Linked DNA regions of Homo sapiens: region 2 is linked to region 1. The links are contacts of gene promoters, found by promoter capture Hi-C in human tissues and cell types (Jung and others, 2019). All regions are on one chromosome and are shown on one strand. The core of a region is centred on a gene start or on the middle of the fragment in contact, and the rest is flanking DNA. Distances in the headings are between cores, read along the strand shown. Region 1 holds the start of SLC45A2 (solute carrier family 45 member 2). Region 2 overlaps TARS1 (threonyl-tRNA synthetase 1).

What was found. Contacts are between HindIII fragments. The study calls those that stand out against the background at their distance.
Region 2: a contact is called between a fragment that was not itself captured here and the fragment with the promoter of SLC45A2 in region 1, in 1 of the 25 tissues and cell types used here (mesendoderm cells).

Annotation. Positions count from the first base shown.
Region 1 is chr5:33,981,557-33,986,658 of GRCh38, reverse strand. SLC45A2 (solute carrier family 45 member 2) reads left to right here and starts at 1,966. Exons shown (of 7, transcript NM_016180.5): 1 at 1,966-2,460; 2 at 4,247-4,423. The coding sequence starts at 2,076. AMACR (alpha-methylacyl-CoA racemase) reads left to right here. Exons shown (of 5, transcript NM_014324.6): 5 at 1-494. The HindIII fragment of the contact is 13,392 bases long and covers 1-5,102 here.
Region 2 is chr5:33,459,118-33,464,219 of GRCh38, reverse strand. TARS1 (threonyl-tRNA synthetase 1) reads right to left here. Exons shown (of 19, transcript NM_152295.5): 11 at 4,359-4,525; 12 at 3,156-3,318; 13 at 2,925-3,062; 14 at 2,476-2,553; 15 at 2,214-2,314; 16 at 2,017-2,121; 17 at 395-467. Among named protein-coding and RNA genes, the nearest start is that of TARS1, 21 kb to the right of the region's middle. RefSeq lists an enhancer at 2,600-3,799. The HindIII fragment of the contact is 3,709 bases long and covers 787-4,495 here.

The DNA of each region.
Region 1 (5,102 bases), core at 717-3,216:
TAGTCTTCCTACCAGTGTCTCCCATTAGCCAAATCTACCTAGAAGCCAGAAAACAAGGGAACCCTGGAAATGTAGCCCCATAAGATAAAGAGCACCAAAGGAAATAGATCTGAGCAGACAGGCAGCACAAAATGCAGTGTGTATGGTTTATTCACTCAGTAATTCCTTTAGCAAATGTTTATTGAGGATCTACTAGGTGCCAGGTATCATGATACTTGCTGGGGATACCATAATGAACAAAACAGACCTGTTCTCCGCTCTTGAGGAAATCAAAGACAAACACAGGATATGGAATAAACCCAGAATTATCTCATTGTAAAATGTGTTAAGTACCACGAGGAGAAATATCAGGGCGATCTGACACAGCTAATGATTTGAAGAAGGGTGTGACCTGCCACCATTTTAAATCTAGTTATTTCACTCCTGAGCTGTGTGTGTGGAAAACTTGTAGTAAAAAATAGAATGTCTATATTTATAAAAAGTTTATGAAAAGATATCAATTTATTTACATTTTGACAAACTCTATGTAATAAGGCTTTATTACCTCACGGCCATGTGTGTGATCATGTGTAATAGCATGTGTGTATGAGAGAGAGAAGCCATATGTAATTATGTGTAATAACGTCTGTGAGAGAGAAGCCATGTGTGTGATCATGTAAAATAACGTGTGTGAGAGAAGCCATGTGTGTGATCGTGTAAAATAACGTGTGTGAGAAGCCGTGTGTGATGTGTAATAACACGTGTGTGAGAGAGAAGCTATGTGTGCAATCATGTGTAATAGCATGTGTGTGTGAGAGAAGCCATGAGTCCGATCATGTGTAATAACGAGAAAAGCCCCATGTGTGATCATGTGTAATAGTGTGTGTGAGAGAAAAGCCATGTGTGTGGTCATGTGTAATAATGTGTATGAGAGAGAAGCCGTGTGTGATCGTTGTGTAATAACGTGTGTGAGAGAGAAACCATGTGTGATCATGTGCAATAGCATGTGTGTGTGAGAGAAGCCATGTGTGATCATGTGCAATAGTGTGTGAGAGAGAAGCTGTCATGTGTAATAATGTGTGAGAGAAGCCATGTATGATCATGTGTAATAACGTGAGAGAAGCCATGTGTGACCATGTGTAATAACGTGTGTGAGAGAAGCCATGTGTGTGGTCATGTGTAATAAAATGCATGAGAAGCCATGTGTGATCATGTGTAATAGCATGTGAGAGAGAAGCCATGTATGATCATGTGTAATAACGCATGTGAGAGAAGCCATGTGTGACCATGTGTAATGTGTGTGAGAGAAGCCATGTGTGATCATGTGTAATAGCATGTGTGTGAGAAGCCATGTGTATGATCATGTGTAATAACATGCATGAGAGAAGCCGTGTGTGATCATGTGTAATAGCATGTATGTGAGAAACCATGTGTGATCATGTGTAATGTGTGTGAGAGAAGCCATGTGTGTGATCATGTGTAATAGCATGTGTGTGAGAAGCCGTGTGTGATCATGTGTAATAGCATGTGTGTGTGAGAAGCCAGGTGTGATCACGTTTAATAGCGTGTGTGTGAGAGAAGCCATGTGTGTGATCATGTGTAATAATGTGTGTGTGAGAGAAGCCACGTGTGTGATCATGTGTAATAGCATGTGTGTGTGAGAGAGAAACCATGTGTGTGATCATGTGTAATACTGTCTGAGAGAGCCCATGTGTGTGATCACGTGTAATAACGTGTGTGTGAGAGGGAGAGAAGCCATGTGTGTGATCACGTGTAATTGTGTGTGTGTGTGAGAGAGAGAGAAAGAGAGAGGGAACAGTACAAAGGAGGATCCCTTTAGAAAAGTATTCCAACGTCTTATGGAGCCAGAGGGCTGATTCACAGCTGCTAATCTCTGTCATGCTTTCCAGCACCACCCCCTCCCTCTCATCATAACTTGTGATCTTAGAGGCAGGAAAGAATTTGAGCCCCTCCCCCAGCCTGACCATCTCTGTTGGTTGCTCGGCCAGGCTCCACGTCAAATCCAGTTTGAAACACAGACCCTAGGACCACGCAGGAGGTGGTGGGCTCGCAGGAAGGTTCCTCTCCCAGTGGCCATGGGTAGCAACAGTGGGCAGGCTGGCCGCCACATCTATAAATCCCTAGCTGATGATGGCCCCTTTGACTCTGTGGAGCCGCCTAAAAGACCCACCAGCAGACTCATCATGCACAGCATGGCCATGTTCGGAAGAGAGTTCTGCTACGCGGTGGAGGCAGCGTATGTGACCCCAGTCCTGCTCAGCGTAGGTCTGCCCAGCAGCCTGTACAGCATTGTGTGGTTCCTCAGCCCCATCCTGGGATTCCTGCTGCAGCCCGTGGTCGGATCGGCCAGCGACCACTGCCGGTCCAGGTGGGGCCGCCGGAGACCCTACATCCTCACCCTGGGAGTCATGATGCTCGTGGGCATGGCTCTGTACCTCAATGGGGCTACTGTTGTAGCAGGTAAGTGGGCTGCACAAGGTGGGCAGACAGGGATATGTGTCTTAGTGTGTACCTCTGCAGGAGGAGGATGTTCATGTGTTTGACCTTTCCTAGAAATTTGTTAGAATTGATCTCTCCTAGGTTACAATGAACTTCCCCTTTGACAAATTTGGCCCAGATTCTGTGGTTGGGGAGCCTCTACTTCTAGAAATATCAAAATAAATATGTTTCATTGTTGTGAAGATTTAAAAATAGGATTAAATTTGTATCTATTTTATTAAATTTGTATCTATTTTATCGAATTGAATATTTTTACATATTTATCAATTGAGTTACTTTTTGAGCCCATTATGCTCTATTTAATACTCTTATCAAATTGACTGGCTGCCAAATAGCTCCATAAATATTTACAATAAGTCACCTGTGTATCCAAATAAGTTAATTCTGTTCATAGTTTTATGTAGAGCGTTTTAATAGGCGTAGGGCATAAGCCCATCAGCTCAAGAGGACCTTTCTGGCATTGCAAATTCTGGACAAAAGCAAACCTGAGGGTAGGCATTTTTTCTAGCCATTAATCAGCTACCAATTAATCAGTAATTGATGGTAGTACAATAAAGTTGCATTGCAAAAAGGATCGCTAAAAATAGCACACATTTGTAGATCATTAACTCTCAAGCTAGCAGAATCGGTGATTATGAGGCAGGATAATCAATTATCATTTGTACATATTTGAAAGAAAGCGTAAATGTACAAATGTAGGATATTTCCAGGAGAATGAACAAAAAGCTGATAAGCATTGTTGACTCTAAGGAGGATTACTGAAGGACAGGAGGTGAGAAGTGGCGGGTAGACTTATTGTTCATTTAATTTTATACTGCAATTTTTAAAACGTGTATATAATCTATGCTATTCTTAAGTTTAAAAAGCAAATGGAAACAAGAGAAACAACAATGTATCTTTTATAGGAGATTGGGTAAACGATTACAGCGTATCCGTAGAATGAAAATCCAGCTGTTAAAAATTGTGAGGAGCTGAAATTATATGAAGAAAGTTGGTTACTGCATCAGTGCTGTTCAAAGATGTGGCCTCTGACCTGCCCCTCAGCATCAGCAGAGACCGTTAGAGATGCAGTTTCTCGGGCCCCCTTCAGGCCCACCAATTGAATCAGAGTCTTGGGAAATGGGGCCAGCAATCTGTGTTTTAACAAGACATACAAGCGATAGTTCAATATGCCAGACTTTGAGAAGCACTGCGTTTGACTACCATTGTACACGTGTGTCTGTATGTGCAGAAGTGCGTAAAAGGAGGCCTTAAAGCCTGACCTTTGCTGGGGCTGGGATTGGAAGCATCTCCCTCAGCTTTTTTAATAGAATTGGAATTGCTTGCGATAAGCATGCATACTTTTTTATTTAAGGAGATATTTTACATACCAGAAATTTCACTAATTAAAAGTGTACAATTCAGTGCCTTTAGTATGTTGTGCAACCATTACCACTCTCTAATTCTACAACATTTTCATCACCCCCAAAATAAACCCATTACCATCAATAGTCACGTCCACTTTTCCCCTATGCACCAGCCCTAAGCAACCACTAATTTACTTTGTGTCTCCATAGATTTGTGTTTTCTGGACATTCGCTTGCATAATTTTTAAAACCTGAAAAAAAATGTAAAGCTATTTTTATTTGGAAAAAAGCAAAATAAAAGCAAGGAAGATGATTTTATGGCAAGAAGTTTAGGTGGAAATTACAAAACGCGGATGATTCTAAAACAGGATTTAGGAGACCAATGTTTATTTTTCTTTTAGCTTTGATTGCTAACCCAAGGAGGAAGCTGGTTTGGGCCATAAGTGTCACCATGATAGGTGTCGTTCTCTTTGATTTTGCTGCCGACTTCATTGATGGGCCCATCAAAGCCTACTTATTTGATGTCTGCTCCCATCAGGACAAGGAGAAGGGCCTCCACTACCATGCCCTCTTCACAGGTAGGGAATATTCCAGAAAGTCTCTCCTTCAGCTCCCCAGACAATGAGGCACTTCCACTAAAGCCATCCAGTGTCTCTACACGTGGAGTTTTTTGAATGAACGGGTCAGCTGATGGGCTGCTCCCGTCATGCGGGCACTGTCTCCCCGTGCATTTCTCTGAACAGTCAGCTTGTGACTAGTGCTGCAGTTTCTGCAAAGGAAGTTTACAGAAGAGCTTTCTTAAGAATGCTTTGTGGAGACAATTACAACTGAAATGGAAAGAAGCCTTGTGGATTGTACTTTTGCATTAGAGCAGAGGATCTCAAGCATCAGCAATGTAGCATCCACATTCCTTAGAAGGTCATTGAAAATACAGTTGCCTGGGCTCCTTCTCCAGTTATTCTGATTCAGTGAGTCTAAGGCGGGGCCCAGACATTTGTATTTTATTTAATAAAGACCCCAGATGATTTTGTGGCAGGTTTAAAAAACAAAAAGAGAAAACAAACCAAGCAAACAAAAAACTCAACGTCTTAGAAATTTCTTAGTTATGTAAAAGGTTGGCATTTCCTCAACCTTGTGGTTTGAAAAAGTTCATGCCAGGAGGAAAATGGGAGCTCTCTTGATCTCTTGGGACTGTTGCCAGCCTACTTTGGTTACTGTTGGTCAATTGTTTAGAGCAATGCTACTCAGAGCACCAGT
Region 2 (5,102 bases), core at 1,392-3,891, 520 kb after region 1:
TGTAACTGGGTATGGTGGCTCCTGCCTGTAGTCACTGCTACTCGGGAGGCCAAGGTGGGAGGACTGCGTGAGCCCAGGAGTTTGAGGTTACAGTGAGCCATGACTGTACTACTGCACTCCAGTTGGGGCAAGAGAAAGATCCCATCTCTTAAAACAAATACAATAAAATATACAAGTGTACATAAAACACTATCCAAATATGTCTTCTGATTATGGAATCATGGAGAAAAGCATTAAAGAAGTAATATAATCTATTCAGGCTTAACAAAGATTAAAAATAGTAACATTTCTCTTTATCACAACAGCTCGATTCACCAAGAATACAGGGCTTATGTGATTTGAAAAGCTGAACAACAGATGTTAAATTGAAAGAAAATTCATATCTAAGGCTTACCTTTTGGGCATATTCATCACAGGTTGGTCCCACTGGAACTACCATTACCTGGCGAGGGGACAGCCAAAAGGGCCTTTGGAAGAGAATAAAAATATTCAGTGTAGATGTGGGCATATTCACTAAACAGGGACAGCATATTTCTTACTCTACTCTTCAGTATCTTTTCCTGGAACATGTAACGACTACTTTTAAAACTTGGCTTTAAAAAACCCCAAAATGAAAAGACCTATCCAATAAAGATTAAGGCGAGGAGATGCAGGAGAAGAAAACTAACCCTACGTAAGGAAAGCCTGTAACTACAATTTGTCTTGCTAAGTAGATAGCAAAGCAAATTGAGGATAGGACTAGGCCTCACACTTTAATACATCACAAAACACTGTGTATTGGCTGTGAGAGGAGGTAACAAATGATTTAATAACTGCATGTAGTGATTAATTGTTCATTTTATTACTTATTCTTCACGGGGACACAGTGCCCTCAGTTTACTCAACATCCATTTTGTATCATTCAGCAAATTGTAATTGATAATAACTGGTTATGGCACTTGGTAAAAATCAGAGTTTTCACTACTTATTAAAAAATAAGCCCATCCAATTCTCCCTTTGAAGCAATACAAGTGTCAAATGCTTCTGATGCTGCAAACATCAGGCTAATGTTTTTCTCCATCATTCCTCTATTTTCAGTTGTTCTGTTGTATCAGGCAAAAGGCTAAAGTAGGCACTAAATTCTACCCTAATCATGGACTTTTCCCCACCTAAAACAGGTTTAGCAGAGCAATTAGCTGAGGACTCCCTTAATTCTTGAAATACCTTGCAGAGAATGTGTCTCACATTTTATCTGACTTTGAGAAATCTAGAGATTATCTTGTATCATTGATCAGAATGAGAAACTGTCCTAATTTCTGAAGTAACCAAGTTCAAATAAAACTGAAATGACAGTAATGTGTAAGATTAAACCAATGTACGTCATTTTACAAAAGTTTTAAATCAATATGATTAATATGGAAGGCTCTACACACGGGTGCTTTTATAACCCTGTGCTGCTTTCAAATGCACTGTGGGTCCAGAAAAAACTGCTTAAGAATTAAGATGAAAGTTATGTGGCCATGTATCTTGGAAACAAAAACTTACTTAACCTCACAGAAATGAATCACAAATGTTGATCGGTTTGGCATCTGTTTTAAAAAATGCTTGGCTTTTAAAACATGTCCAAATACCTGCTTGTTATGATTAGCAAGGCTGAACGAAGAAAGCCATAAGCCTCCTCATTTATCTATGTAAAACCAGCAAAGCCATCTAAATCCCAAAACAAAGTTACTAGAAAAGCATCCAAAACAGTAAGTATACTTCTTACAGAATACTAATTCCTAATTAGAAAGTATTACACAACATCCAAACAAATCAAGTTCTGGAATTAAAGTAATTACTATTAGCAATTGTTCTTAATGCTAAAAAGTTTGTGTTTAGATTGTGATTCCTTATTTTTTAATGAACACTTGTCGTTAGTTAGAAGCAACCGATTGGAATCATTCTCCCTTTCCATCTGATAATTAAATCGAAAAGTAGACATTTCTTGTAGCCAATTTATACTAATCAGAAAAAAAAGACAGTGACAAAAATTACCATTTGCCCCCATAGTTTTCTGTGAGGATAGCAATCATTCTTTCCACTGATCCCAAGATGGCTCGATGAACAATCACTGGCCTTTTCTTATCATCACCATCATGGCTATAAAGAAAAAAAAAATTGTTTTGTCTTATTATATATATTTTCTCTTATATATCCCTGGAGAATATTCAGAGCAGACACCAGAAACTCACCTTACATAAGTAAGATTAAATCTGATGGGCAACTGGAAATCCAGCTGGATGGTTGCACACTGGTGGTACCGCCCAATCGCATCTTTAATCTGTATGTCAATCTAAGAAGCAAAGACTGGGTTATTATAAAATGCCAGTGATACTAAAGTGGAGCTCAATAGTTGGATTAGGGCTGATTTTCTTTTTTCCAACTTTTTTCGAAGTCGTATCTTCTTCATCCACAAGTGAAAATCATATTACCCAAATGTACTTTAGTGCTCACCTTTGGGCCATAGAAAGCTCCATCTCCAGAGTTTAACTCCCACTTTTCACCAAATTCATTCAGACTGTTTTCAAGTTGCTGAGGATAAAGCAAAATGATTTTTATTTTTTTCATCGCAATTTCCCTTCTTTTAGCCTAATTTGAGACTAAAAATACAGTAATTACTTTCATAGATCAATATTCTCTGCTTTAGAATTTTGTCCACCTGAACATATGCTCATACCAACCCCTTTTTAAAGCTTATAGCTTGATAACTGAAAAAAGTCATGAAAACATTCAACCATTTCAAAAATACACAATCATAAAGAAAAAAACTAGCTTACACAAACCTAGGAACCATTTCCAATTTCATTTTGCTTTTATCCATTTAAAGAGGCTTGGCTTTCTTACATCTCAGAACAAGCCAATTTCAAACAGTATTCAAAAGCACGCTGAAAAACACCACTTACTTTCTCAGCTTGATCCCATACTTCGATATCTCCAAGGAATTTTTCCGGGCGAGTAGAAAGGTTTAGTTTAAAAGAAAATCCAAATACGCTATATACCGTACGTAGAAAATCCAAACAACCTTTTATTTCATCTTCAATCTTCAAATTAAAAAACAAAAAAAGAAACAGTAGTTATTTTCCTTGACTTTCTTGACTCTTCTTTCTAAGTATTTTATTCCCAGGGTCTCATACCTGCTCCATGGCACAGAATATGTGAGCATCATCCTGTTGGAATCTTCGTACCCGGGTGAGTCCTGTGAGTGCTCCAGACAGCTCGTTCCTATGAAGTACCCCAAAATCAGCTAGCCGCAGAGGCAGTTCTCGCCAGGACCTTGGCCGATGATCAAACATAAGGCTGAAGAGAAAAAGAAAAGTCCACGGACACTTAAGAATAAAACTGCTTCTGTAATGCTATATTTAATTACACGAAAGGTTGTCAAAAAGCCACTGATTCTAGCTGTCCATCCAAGCAACATTTCTCAAATTCTGGGCTACATACAGCAGTAAAAGCACTTGCATGAATAAAACAGCAAATAAGTTATAACTCAATGAACCACAGTGAAGAATTAAAAAACGTATTCCAACAACTGAAGAATCTGGGAAAATTAAGAATGAACTTGGTTGGTCCCCTAGCCTATAATACAGCTTCTTCACAAAGATTCTTCTCTCACCTCCTCTGCCCTCCAGGCCTGGCTAGTAGGAGCTGCAGACACTAAGCTACCTGTATCCACAGCTCTCCTGTGTCTTCCCTTAAGCTGTTCTTCACCCAACTTTCAAAGATAGAAAGCAGAGCGGCCTCATGACAAGGAACATTTTCCAAGAATGCTGAGTCATTAGCAGGTTTTGACAGAACAGGTTTCTTTAAAACAACAACACACTAGGTAATTTGTTACACCCCCATATTTCATCTTCCTGTTTTATAGTCTGCCTTGGTCATTGCTATGATCCCAGTACCATTACTGAATGCCCACAGATCTGGAGATCTGGCTGGGCACAGTGGCTCATGCCTGTAATCCCAGCGCTTTGGGAAGCCAAGGTTGAAGGACCGCTTGAGGCCAGGAGTTTGAGACCAGGCTGAGCAACGTGGCAAGACCTCATCTCTACAGAAATAAAATTTTAAAAATTAGCTGGGCATGGTGGCATATACCTGCAGTCCCAGCTGCAGTGAGCTATAATCGCATACCTGCACTCCAGTTGGAAGACCTCTTTAAAAAAAAAAAAAAAAAAAGTGGGGATCTAATCAGGTGCAGAAGATATAATACAAAGATGTTGCGTTTAAATGCTCTTCTGATCACATAATTTGTTTTTAATGAAAATGTTGTTAAAGGAGGGAAGAACCCAGGATGAATTGTAGCATGTGAAAATCTTCAGTAGAAATTCAAAGCTGCCGAATACCAGTGTCCTGGGCAGTTCATGGGTTTCAGGGCAAACAGCTCCTTCTCCACCTCAAAGGAGAACATGTTCTCGCTGTAGTGCTGCCAGTGGCCCGAGGTCATCCAGAGTCGGCTGTTGAAGATGTTTGGGGTGACTACCTCCTGGAATCCTCTTTTCCTATATTCGCTCTGATAGAAAATAAACAGAAACATGTGTAGGCAAATAAATGCTCATACTTCAAGTGGGAGTAAAAACTTAAAGAGTGATTTTATACTCTCTCATGAAAAAGATGGACACATGCCATGATTCAGAAATCCCACTTCTAAGTATATACCAGAGAGAAAACTCTTGGCACATGTACCTAAGGAGGCTTATAAAAGTGATGCTACTGCAGCATGGCTGATAATAAGGGACAATTATACATCAGTGTCCATCAATACAGGGATGAGTGCATTGTGGTAGTTATATAACAAAATAATATGTAGCAAGTGAAAATAAACTTGATTTGCATGTCTCTAAAAATAAATCACAAGGCAGTCTGATACACAATGAGGCTTCCTATATGTAACACACAAATACATAAATAATTTAAGGGTACAAATACATGGGCTAGATATAAGTAACATGGACAAAAAGAATCCATGCCAACTTCAAAACAGTAGTTTCTTCTAGAAAACTGGTATATGATATACCAGTATATGGATATATATACCAGTATATGGAGGTATATGGATCAAAACTGGGTCCTAAAGAGAGGCTTTTTAA